Regions from separate parts of the Homo sapiens genome. Here region 1 is linked to region 2. Evidence: promoter capture Hi-C in human tissues and cell types (Jung and others, 2019). All regions are on one chromosome and are shown on one strand. The core of a region is centred on a gene start or on the middle of the fragment in contact, and the rest is flanking DNA. Distances in the headings are between cores, read along the strand shown. Region 1 overlaps GPR39 (G protein-coupled receptor 39). Region 2 holds the start of MZT2A (mitotic spindle organizing protein 2A).

Region 1 (5,333 bases), core at 2,132-4,631, 1.1 Mb before region 2:
GTTTCGCCCTGTTGGCTAGGCTGGTTTCGAATTCCTGGCCTCAGGTGATCTGCCCACCTCAGCCTCCCAAAGTGCTGAGATTACAGGCATAAGCCACCGTGCCTGGCCAACCTAGGTTGTTTTTAACATTGCATCATGCAAACCTCATCATAGAAATCTATGTCCTCTGGTATATCCACTCACAGTCAAAAGATAGCTGCAATGGCGACAAGCATCACACCCCCGCCCAACAACTCCAAGACCATGAAAAGGAAAGAAACATCATCACTTCCTAAAGGTGAGACACTTTTTCTAAATCTCCCCACTCCCATCCCTGCATTCTCATGTTTCATCTGCCAAACTGGCATTGTTTGCCCTATCTTAACCACTGGCAAGGGGAGTTGAAATGCCATGATTATCCTAGACCAGTGATCTTCAGTCTTGGCTGCACATTTTAATCATATGGGAACTCTTCATCCCTACTCAAGGCCAGTTAAATCAGAACCAGTGTCACCAGCAGATAAAGACAAATCTGAGACTGGGCAATTTACAAAAGGAAGAAGTCTCTTGGACTTACAGTTCCACATGGCTGGGGAGGACTCACAATCATGACAGAAGGTGAAAGGCATGTCTCACATAGCGGCAGACAAGAGAAGAGCGCTTGTGTAGGGAAACTCCCCTTTTTAAAACCATCAGATCTCGTGAAACTTACTATCATGAGAACCGCACAGGAAAGACCAATTAAACGATGGTGAGGCCCAAGTATCAGTAGTTTTTAAAGAACTTTTCAGGTGTTATTAATATGCAGCCAAGGTAAAAGACCACTGCTTGAACTAATCAAGATTCACCATCTGCTGCAGGGTCAGATACCTGAAAAAGTTCCAGGTTCTGCTGGTATCTTAGCCTGTTTTCTGTTTCTGTAGCTGAATACCTAACACCGGGTAATTTATAAAGAAAAGAAATTTCTTTCTTACCATTCAGGAGGCCGAGAAATCCAAGGTCAAATTCTTCTTGCTGGTGGGGACCCTGCAGAGTGCTGAGGAGGTGCAGGGCATCGCACAGAGAGAGGGCTGGAGCATGAGCCAAACTAGCTTTTATAACAGACCCTGCTTGTGCTGACTAACCCACTCCAGTGATAACCCATTAACCCATTCATCCATGAGTGGATTAATCCATCCAAGGGGACAGAGCCTTCATGACTCAATCACCTTTTAAAGGCTCCACTTTTTTTTTGAGACTGTCTCCCTCTGTCCCCCAGGCTGGAGTGCAGTGGTGCAATCTCGGCTCACCGCAACCTCCACCTCCCGGGTTCAAGCGATTCTCCTGCCTCAGCCTCCTGAGTAGCTGAGATTACAGGCATGTGCCGCCATGCCCGGTTAATTTTTGTATTTTTACTAGAGATGGGGTTTCACCATGTTGGTCTCAAAATCCTGACATCATGATCCACCTGCCTCGGCCTCCCAAAGTGCTGGGATTACAGGCATGAGCCACCACACCTGGCCAAAGGCTCCACTTCTTAATACTGTTACTTTGGGGATTAAGTTTCAACATGAATTTCAGAGGGGGTAAACATTCAAACCACAGCAGCCAGCAAGGAAGAAGGCAAATGGAGAAGGCTCCCGGGAAGGCCATTGATTGTGGCTGTCAGAGCTGGTCCCACAGCAGGACGCTGAAGGTATGGAACACAGAACAGAAAAATGTTCACGGGAAGGAAAAGGCCTTGGAGGGAAAGCTGAGGGAGAATGGCCAGGGAATGTGTATTGGGAAATGACCAGGGAACGTTATGTGTACCACAGTGCGTGAAGCCGGAGCACTTACCCTAAGCTCCTTCAGTATCTTGTGCATCACAAGACATCCTGTCAATCACCCACTCCTTCACCAGCCCACACTCTCACCAATACTGAGTTTTTTCTCTTGCATCTGTGCCACCCGAACAATGTTGCAAAAACGTTTCATGGGTCATGGAGGAGAGGAGGGTAGTGTGAGCAATGAGACAGCAACCCTAGGACAAAACTCCTAGAGAGATGAAAGGACACTGAAAACAAACACACCTGCTTTTGAGATTTTTCTGTGGCCTCACCCCGCTTCTGATCTCCTAGGAAACTAAGCAATGGCAACAAAAGCCAAAATTGACAAATGGGATCTAATTAAACTAAAGAGCTTCTGCACAGCAAAAGAAACTACCATCAGAGTGAACAGGCAACCTACAACATGGGAGAAAATTTTTGCAACCTACTCATCTGACAAAGGGCTAATATCCAGAATCTACAATGAACTCAAACAAATTTACAAGAAAAAAACAAACAACCCCATCAAAAAGTGGGTGAAGGACATGAACAGACACTTCTCAAAAGAAGACATTTATGCAGCCAAAAAACACATGAAAAAATGCTCATCATCACTGGCCATCAGAGAAATGTAAATCAAAACCACTATGAGATATCATCTCACACCAGTTAGAATGGCAATCATTAAAAAGTCAGGAAACAACAGGTGCTGGAGAGGATGTGGAGAAATAGGAACACTTTTACACTGTTGGTGGGACTGTAAACTAGTTCAACCATTGTGGAAGTCAGTGTGGCGATTCCTCAGGGATCTAGAACTAGAAATACCATTTGACCCAGCCATCCCATTACTGGGTATATACCCAAATGACTATAAATCATGCTGCTATGAAGACACATGCACATGTATGTTTATTGCAGCATTATTCACAATAGCAAAGACTTGGAACCAACCCAAATGTCCAACAATGATAGACTGGATTAAGAAAATGTGGCACATATACACCATGGAATACTATGCAGCCATAAAAAATGATGAGTTCATGTCCTTTGTAGGGACATGGATGAAATTGGAAATCATCATTCTCAGTAAACTATCGCAAGAACAAAAAATCAAACACCGCATATTCTCACTCATAGGTGGGAATTGAACAATGAGATCACATGGACACATGAAGGGGAATATCACACTCTGGGGACTGTGGTGGGGTGGGGGGAGGGGGGAGGGATGGCATTGGGAGATATACCTAAGGCTAGATGACGAGTTAGTGGATGCAGCGCACCAGCATGGCACATGTATACATATGTAACTAACCTGCACAATGTGCACATGTACCCTAAAACTTAAAGTATAATAAAAAAAAAAAAAAAAGGAAACTCATCTCACTGCTTGTGCTTATAAAGAATCTAAATGAGACAAAGGCTATTGGGAGTTCATAGGGGAGAGTCCATAGGAAGACTGCAACTTGAGCGATGTTTCACTATGAGTGTCCTTCTGCTTCTTCTTTCTCAGTCCCTCTCATTGACAAATGACTTGGCTAAATACTGGAATCACATAGGAAGCATCCAAAAAATCCCCATGCCCGGCTAATCGTCACGCCACTAAATCAGAATCTCTGTGGGTCAATTATGGCATCAATAGTTATTAAAGGCCAGGAGTGGTGACTCACGCCTGTAATCCCAGCACTTTGGGAGGCTGAGGCAGGTGGATCACCTGAGGTCAGGAGTTCGAGACCATCCTGGCCAACATGGTGATACCCGATCTCTACTAAAAATACAGAAAAATTAGCCAGGCATGGTGGCAGGTGCCTGTAATCCCAGCTACTCAAGAGGCTGTGGCAGGAGAATTGCTTGAGCCTGGGAGGTGGAGGTTGTGGTGAGCCTAGATCATGCCACTGTACTCCAGCCTGGGCAATAGAGCGAGACTCTGTCTCAACAAAAAAAAAAAAAAAAAAAAAGAAAAAAGAAAAAAATAGTTATTAAAGCTTCCTAGGTGATTCCAATGTGTTGAGAAATCATATAAGAATACTCATCAATAAACCAGAAATTTTGAAGATTATGCCCTCAAAGTGTTAGATTTGTAAGACTCCGTGGAGAGTGATATTACATGCATCTTTTTGAGCAACTTTTTCTCAAGATGGTGCAGGTACTGGCCCACCTGGCACAAGCCACAGAGAGGAAATGAGGTGGAGGTGGGAGTCAGCAGAGGAAGGGGTGAGAAAACAGAATGTCCTCTCCTCCTTACCTACTCGGGGCAGTGCGCCAACTCAGGTTGGACATGTTGATAGGGAAATACAAAGAAATTATTTTGAACATAAGATGAAAGGAGAAGGGAGGGAAATGCCATAAGAAATGACCCAGAAATTTACAATAATTGAGCTCATTAGTCATATCTGTTTATTATCTGTAATGTGCTCTGAATGTTTCCTGGGAGGGGTGGCCACTCATCCAAGGCCACAGGGGCCACAAAGGCAGCCAGGAATCAGGGATGCTTGGCTGGTGGTGCAGGTGGCAGGGCCCTTGGTATCAAAGGGTTTAATGTGTAAACTAACACTATTACATTTCCTCCAGCGCTCTCCAGCACAGTGACTATTTTCAGTGGTGACTCCCACCTCAGTGATCCTCAGCCGCCTCAAGTCAGCCAGGAGGATAAATATGTTCCTGACAGGTTGGGTTGCTCATCTGCTTATGACAATGGATTTTCTTTTCAAGGTGAAATGGGCTGTTAGAGGCTGTGGGAGGATGTGCTTGCAGCAGTGGTTTCAAGGCTTTGCTGTACGTTTGAACCACTGAACAGCTTTTACAAATCCTGGCTTGGAGGCCAGGTCACATCCCACACCAATTACAACCATGTCCATGGTTGGGGTGGGGGGACCCAGGCACCTCCAGGCAATTCCAATGTGCAGCCAAGTTTGAGAACCAGTAAGTTAGAGGAGCAATCCTCAGCCCAGGCCACCTATTTAAATCATCTGCGTGCTTTCAGAAATACCAGTGCCAAAAAACAGCAAAACAATGCCAGGGCCCCACTCCCAGACGTTCTCATTTAATTGGCTTGGAGTAAGGCCTGAGCATTGGGATTTCTGCAAGTCCCCCAGGTAGGATTTTAACAAGCAGCCAGGGTTGAGAAGCTCTGAGCTGGAAGGCAATGACTGATCATAGCCAGGTGGTGGTCACATTCACCATAATCCAGTGATTCTCAAACCTTGTTGGATCTCATTTTTGTAAGGCATGAGCCATCTCACATGCTCTGAAGTTTTATAAACAGGATACTCATTTTATTTTTACTCCTACCTCAGCCTCCCAAGTAGCTGGAACTATAGGTGCGTGCCACCATGCCGAGCTAGTTTTTGTAGACACGAGGTCTCACTATGTTTCCCAGGCTGGCCTCAAGCAATCCTCCCAAAGTGCTGGGATTTCAGGGAAAAGCCATCCCACCCAGCCAGGATACTAATTTTACATTCTCAAGGGAAGCACATACTTGAAAGAATACTGTGGCTGATAGGCCTTTGATAAAATTAGGAGGCTGTGAGTATAATCACCTCCTCTCAATAGCTGATCTGTTTGAAAACT
Region 2 (5,515 bases), core at 2,892-5,391:
CAGACTCAAGCGATCTATCCGCCTCAGCCTCCCAAAATGTGGGATTACAGGCGTGAGCCACCACGCCCGGCCAGCAATTCCCATCTTTTATACAAATGCTGTTCTCAACTGGGCACGGTGGCTTCCGCCTGTAATCCCAGTAGTTTGGGAGGCTGAGGCAGGAGGATCACCTGAGGTCAGGAGTTCAAGACCAGCCTGGCCAACATGGTAAAACCCCGTCTCTACCAAAATACAAAAATTAGCCGGACATGATGGTGGGTGCCTATAATCCCAGCTACTCAGGAGGCTGAGACCCGAGAATCACTTGAACCCAGGAGAAGGTGGTTGCAGTGAGCTGAGATCACGCCACTACACTCCAGCCTAGAAGGCTGAGCAAGACTCTGTCTCAAAAAAAAAAAAGAAACACTGTTCTCCTGCAGCCCATAGTGGCCAGCTTCAGAGCCAAGTTTGTGGTACTGAATCCCTGGTAATGCTTGTACAGCATTTGTTATATACCAGGACTCACTCTAAATGCTCTCTATATATCTCCTCATTTAATCCTCAGTGGTAGGCAGAATTCTAAAGATAGCAGCCCGAGATTCCCGACCCCTGTTTGTTCAATCAAATACTCATCTAGGTACTGCTGTGATGGCATTTTGCACATCCAATTAGAGTCCTAAGTTAGGGGACCTTAAGTTACAGAGTAGTCCCCAGCTGACAGCCAGCAAGGAAACAAAGACCTTAGTTCTACAACTCCAAGGAACTGGATTCTGCCAGCAACCTAAATAAACCTGGAAGCAGCTTCTTCCCTGGAGTTTTCAGATAAGAGCAAAGCTGCCAACACCTTGGTTTTAATCTTGTAATGCACAGCTGAGCTTGCCTGGACTTCTGCACACATAACTATGAGATAATAAATGGGTGCTGGTTTAAACTGCTAAGTTTGTCATACAAGAATAGAAAAACCAACCTCACAACAACCCGATGGGTACAGATGTACTATGACTGCAAGTCAGTACAGATGATGAAGGAGAGGCAGAAATGGGATAACTCACTTACCCCCACCCAGCTAGTAAGTGGCAGAACCAAGATTCCAATACAAAGACCGCCTCACAAAACTGAGACAGGGGCAAATCCCCTCCATATTACCCGTGCACTATGCAATGAACGGAGGGGAAGAGCAAGCTCTGCCAAGGGAGCCTTTGAATAAGCCATCAGAAAACTAGGATCAAAGGCCGGGCGCCATGGCTCACACCTGTAATCCCAGCACTTTGGGAGGCCACGGTGGGCAGATCACTTGAGGCCAGGAGTTCGAGACCAGTGTAGCCAACAAGGCAAAACCCCATCTCTACTAAAAATACAAAAATTAGCTGGGTGTGGTGGCGGGCACCTGTAGTCCCAGCGACTCGGGAGGCTGAGGCATGAGAAATGCTTGAGCCCAGGAGGTGGAGGTTGCAGTGAGCAAAGATCACACCATTGCACTCCAGCCGGGGTGACAGAGGGAAACTCTGTCTCAAAAAATGGAAGAAAAAAAGGAAAGAAAACTAAGATCAGCTTTCCAGATTCCTACCTCTCAGCTCACCCAGGTCAAAAATAAAAAATGCTCAGACCTAGACTTCACAGACAGGAAGTCTGCCAAGTCCCACTGGTGGCCTAGTTACAGTTTTCCTGGCCCAGCTCTGCCCACTGCACAAGTAACGGCACTGGGGTGGCACCTGGCAGTCTGTGGAGGAAGAGAGGCTGGGTGTAAAGAGGCCATGTAGGCAGTTGTAGAGTGAGAGGAGACAGGAATCTCTGCCTCTCTGCCACTTGGCAATAGGAACATCTCCCAAGTTTTTTCAATTTTTTTTTTTTTTTTTTTTGAGACGGAGTCTCACTCTGTCGCCCAGGCTGGAGTCCAGTGGTGCTATCTTGGCTCACTGCAAGCTCCGCTTGGGTTCACGCCATTCTCCTGCCTCAGCCTCCCGAGTAGCTGGGACTACAGGCGCCGGCCACCACGCCCGGCTAATTGTCTTTTGTATTTACTTAGTAGAGTGGGTTTCACATGTTAGCCAGGATGGTCTAGATATCCTGACTTCGTGATAAGCCCGCCTCAGCCTCCCAAAGTGCTGGGATTACAGGCGTGAGCCACCGCGCCCGGCCAGCTTTCTCTTTTCCTTTTTTTTTTTTGAGACGGAGTCTCGCTCTGCGCTCTGTCGCACAGGCTGGAGTGCAGTGGCGCCATCTCAGCTCACTGCAACCTCCGCCTCCCGGGTGCAAGCAATTCTCTGCCTCAGCCTCCCAAGTGGCTGGGATTACACGCGCCCGCTACCACGCCCGGCTAATTTTTGTATTTTCTACTAGAGACGAGGTTTCACCATCTTGGCCAAGCTGGTCTTGAACTCGTGACCTCGTGATCCACCCGCCTGGGCCTCCCAAAGTGCTGGGATTACAGGCGTGAGCCACCGCGCCCGGCCTCAATTCTTAACCTAGCTATCAATTGCAGTGTTAAAGAAAAACGCCTCAGTCCTAATGCACTTGGTCAAGAAAACACTGCACTACTGCAAAATGATCAAAGCAGCATTAAACTGTGGACTGCTGGATAAGTGCGGAGCTCTAGAGATGATGAAGGGGAGAGCATCTCTGCTCAGTAAAAGCTTTCATGGGCAGCGACTGAAAGAATGAGGCCCAGAGGAATTTCTAGGAACTTTCCAAGAGAGGAAATTCAAACCCGAGAACTCCCAAGAGGTGTCTCCCACACCCCTGTTCTCTGACCCTGCCATGGCCACCCTCCCCCGTCACAGGTCTCTGCGTGCCATGCACCTAGAGTCCACTTCGTCGCGACTCTCCAACACCTATTTTCTCCAGGAGCTGCTTCGGACCCGTTTGTTTTTTTTGTTTCGTTTTGTTTTGTTTTTCTGACAGCGACAGCCCTTGGGCAACGCTAATCATTCCAAGCAAATTCTGTCATGCCAAGACCTCCCTTAACAGCACGCGCCCACTTGTTTCCAACTCTCCTGCGAATTGGGCTTCGGGAGCCTCCGAAACCAAGGCTCGGAGATGTGGAGCGCACAGGGGAAGGGTCGAGCTGGGACCCACACCCGGCTCTTCCTCCCACACCGCCTGTTGAGCCCAAGGCTCAATTTCAACACAAAGCTCTCCTTCCCTCAATTCCTTCAACGACGGGTAACCTTCAACGAACACCTACCGGACCAGAACAGAGTGTACGAGCGGCGCGGGAAGGTGGCACAAAGGCATGGCCCAGAGGAGTGGCAGGAAGACTCAGCCGGGGCCCTCCACTCCCCAGCCTGCCCGGCCTGGGCAGAGCCGCCGGGCCGCCCGAGTCCTGGGGCTCGCGGAGGAACGGAGATGGCCTCCGCAGGGGCTCGCGGAAGCCCCCAGGGCGTCGGACCGTCTCACGCGCGCGTCCCGCGCCACTCACCTGTGGGACCCATAGCGTCGCCCGCTTCAGAGGTGGAAGCCGCCATTCCGCCACCGCGCCAAAACGTCGTCATCAAGCTGCGCGCAGAGCCACGCCCCGCGGCCGGGCGGGAAAAGCGCTTCTACCTCTTTGGGCCGTTACCTCAAAAGGTACGTGCGCAAAGCGAAGAAGGCCGGCCGGCCGGCCAGGGAGGGGAAATGGCGAGGCAGGAGTGCGGGGGGAGGGAGTGGTCCTTAGCTGAATGCGCCTGCGTTGTGGCGGCCTCTGGCGCCCCAAGGTAGGGCTCACGCACTTTCTCCCTAGCAAGGAATGCGCGTGCGCGTAAGCAGGGTTGTTGATTAGTGCCCCCCACCCCCCCCGAAGAGCGACCCCTAGTGGTGCACCGGTGCGGACCAGAAAATTGCACGCTTTCTTGAAACAGGTATTGACTGAGCGCCCAATGTATGCCTGGCACTGGGCTGGGTGCTGCCACCTAAGCGAGCACGACCAATGCAAGTCTATCAGGGACGCCCTGACCGCCAAGCAGCTGGCCCCTGCAGTCCGCCATGCCACTCCCGACGCCTAGCGCGCCGCTCAGCACACCGTGAGCGCCCACTAACTGTTGGGCTCCAATGACGCCGAGGAGGCGGCCCCGTCCCCGCGCTCCCGCCGCTCCCGCCAGGGCAGCCCGGGAGGCCAGACGCTGGCGCTGCAGGGAGAGGGCGGTGGGCGCATCCGCTAGGGGGCGCGGCGGGGCGGGGCGCACCTTTCGGCGGGCCTCGCGGATGGCGGCGCAGGGCGTAGGGCCTGGGCCGGGGTCGGCGGCGCCCCCGGGGCTGGAGGCGGCCCGGCAGAAGCTGGCGCTGCGGCGCAAGAAGGTGCTGAGCACCGAGGAGATGGAGCTGTACGAGCTGGCTCAGGCGGCGGGCGGCGGTATCGACCCCGACGTGTTCAAGTGAGCGGGGCGGGTGGGGGCCGCATGCTCGCCAGACACCCCCGACCTCTGCTCTCCGGGTACGCCCGGCCCGCTGGTCGGGAGGAGCCCCCGCTGCCCCCGCCCCCGTCCTTGTCCGGTCTTCAGGGAGGTGGCCGCGCCGGGCGGAGAGGGCTCACCGGCCCCGCGTCTGTCCCCGCCAGGATCCTGGTGGACCTGCTGAAGCTGAACGTGGCCCCCCTCGCCGTCTTCCAGATGCTCAAGTCCATGTGTGCCGGGCAGAGGCTAGCGAGCGAGCCCCAGGACCCTGCGGCCGTGTCTCTGCCCACGTCGAGCGTGCCCGAGACCCGAGGTCAGAGCTGGGCCCGCTGTCCCTGCCCCAGTGGCGGGGGTGGCGGGCGGGGAGGGGGCAGGCGCGGCACAGCGGCGGCGTGGCCCTGAGTGGCCAGGCCTGTCTGTCGGTCGGTCTAGGCCCAGCACCTGCAGGGCCCATCCGTGGGCTCTGCTCCTGGGCTTCGCTGCCAGCCTTAGGAGGCACGTCCAGGTCAGGTGGACGCAGAGTGCGTGCCCCAGGGTGGTCCAGGCTGGGTAGGGCTCCTCCGCTTAGCTCCTCCCCACCTCTTCACTCAGGCCTTCATCCTACAAAGTCGGGAATCAAGACGGTTTGGGGCTGGGCGCCGTGGCTCACGCCTATAATCTTTGGGACCCCACGGCGGGAGGATCCTTTGAGGCCATGAGTTTGAGACCAGTCTGGGTGACAGGGTGAGATCCTGTCTCTAAATGTTTTTCAAAAGACAGTCTCGATCTCTGTCCTGTGGTATACAGCATCCAGGGAAGTGCCCAGGGAGCAGGGCAGGCAGACGTCTTCCTGCCTTTACCCCACCTGGGCCCAGTTCCTGCCTCTGATGATTGCAGGAAGAGAGTTAGACGCGGAACTCCCAGGGTGCAGAGGCCTGCGGGGTCTGAAGGGCCTCCTCCCTCTCCAGTGTGGTGACTGGGCTGAGGAGATGCTGGGACTGAGAGTGTCATGGTGGAGCCTCCGTCCCTGCTCATCCTCTCCGCATGTTGCTTCTGCTCCCGATGGCTCTCTCTGAAATGCAGCACAACCTCCCAGGCCAATGGAAGGAGGCCCAGAGCTGGCTCCCTGCCTGGAAGCAGGAGGAGACCCTCACAGGCATCATGAGAAGGCGTGGAAAGCAGGCTGC

What was found. Contacts are between HindIII fragments. The study calls those that stand out against the background at their distance.
Region 1: a contact is called between a fragment that was not itself captured here and the fragment with the promoter of MZT2A in region 2, in 1 of the 25 tissues and cell types used here (stomach).

Annotation. Positions count from the first base shown.
Region 1 is chr2:132,563,199-132,568,531 of GRCh38, reverse strand. All of the region lies in intron 1 of GPR39 (G protein-coupled receptor 39), which reads right to left. Among named protein-coding and RNA genes, the nearest start is that of LYPD1, 100 kb to the left of the region's middle. The HindIII fragment of the contact is 7,792 bases long and covers 1-5,333 here.
Region 2 is chr2:131,491,023-131,496,537 of GRCh38, reverse strand. It overlaps MZT2A (mitotic spindle organizing protein 2A), which reads left to right and starts at 4,141. Exons shown (of 3, transcript NM_001085365.2): 1 at 4,141-4,331; 2 at 4,514-4,662. The coding sequence starts at 4,162. It overlaps MIR4784 (microRNA 4784), which reads left to right and starts at 5,302; the gene lies at 5,302-5,378. It also overlaps the pseudogene SMPD4BP. RefSeq lists silencers at 3,201-3,390, 3,911-4,420 and enhancers at 3,223-4,016, 4,017-4,810. The HindIII fragment of the contact is 8,382 bases long and covers 1-5,515 here.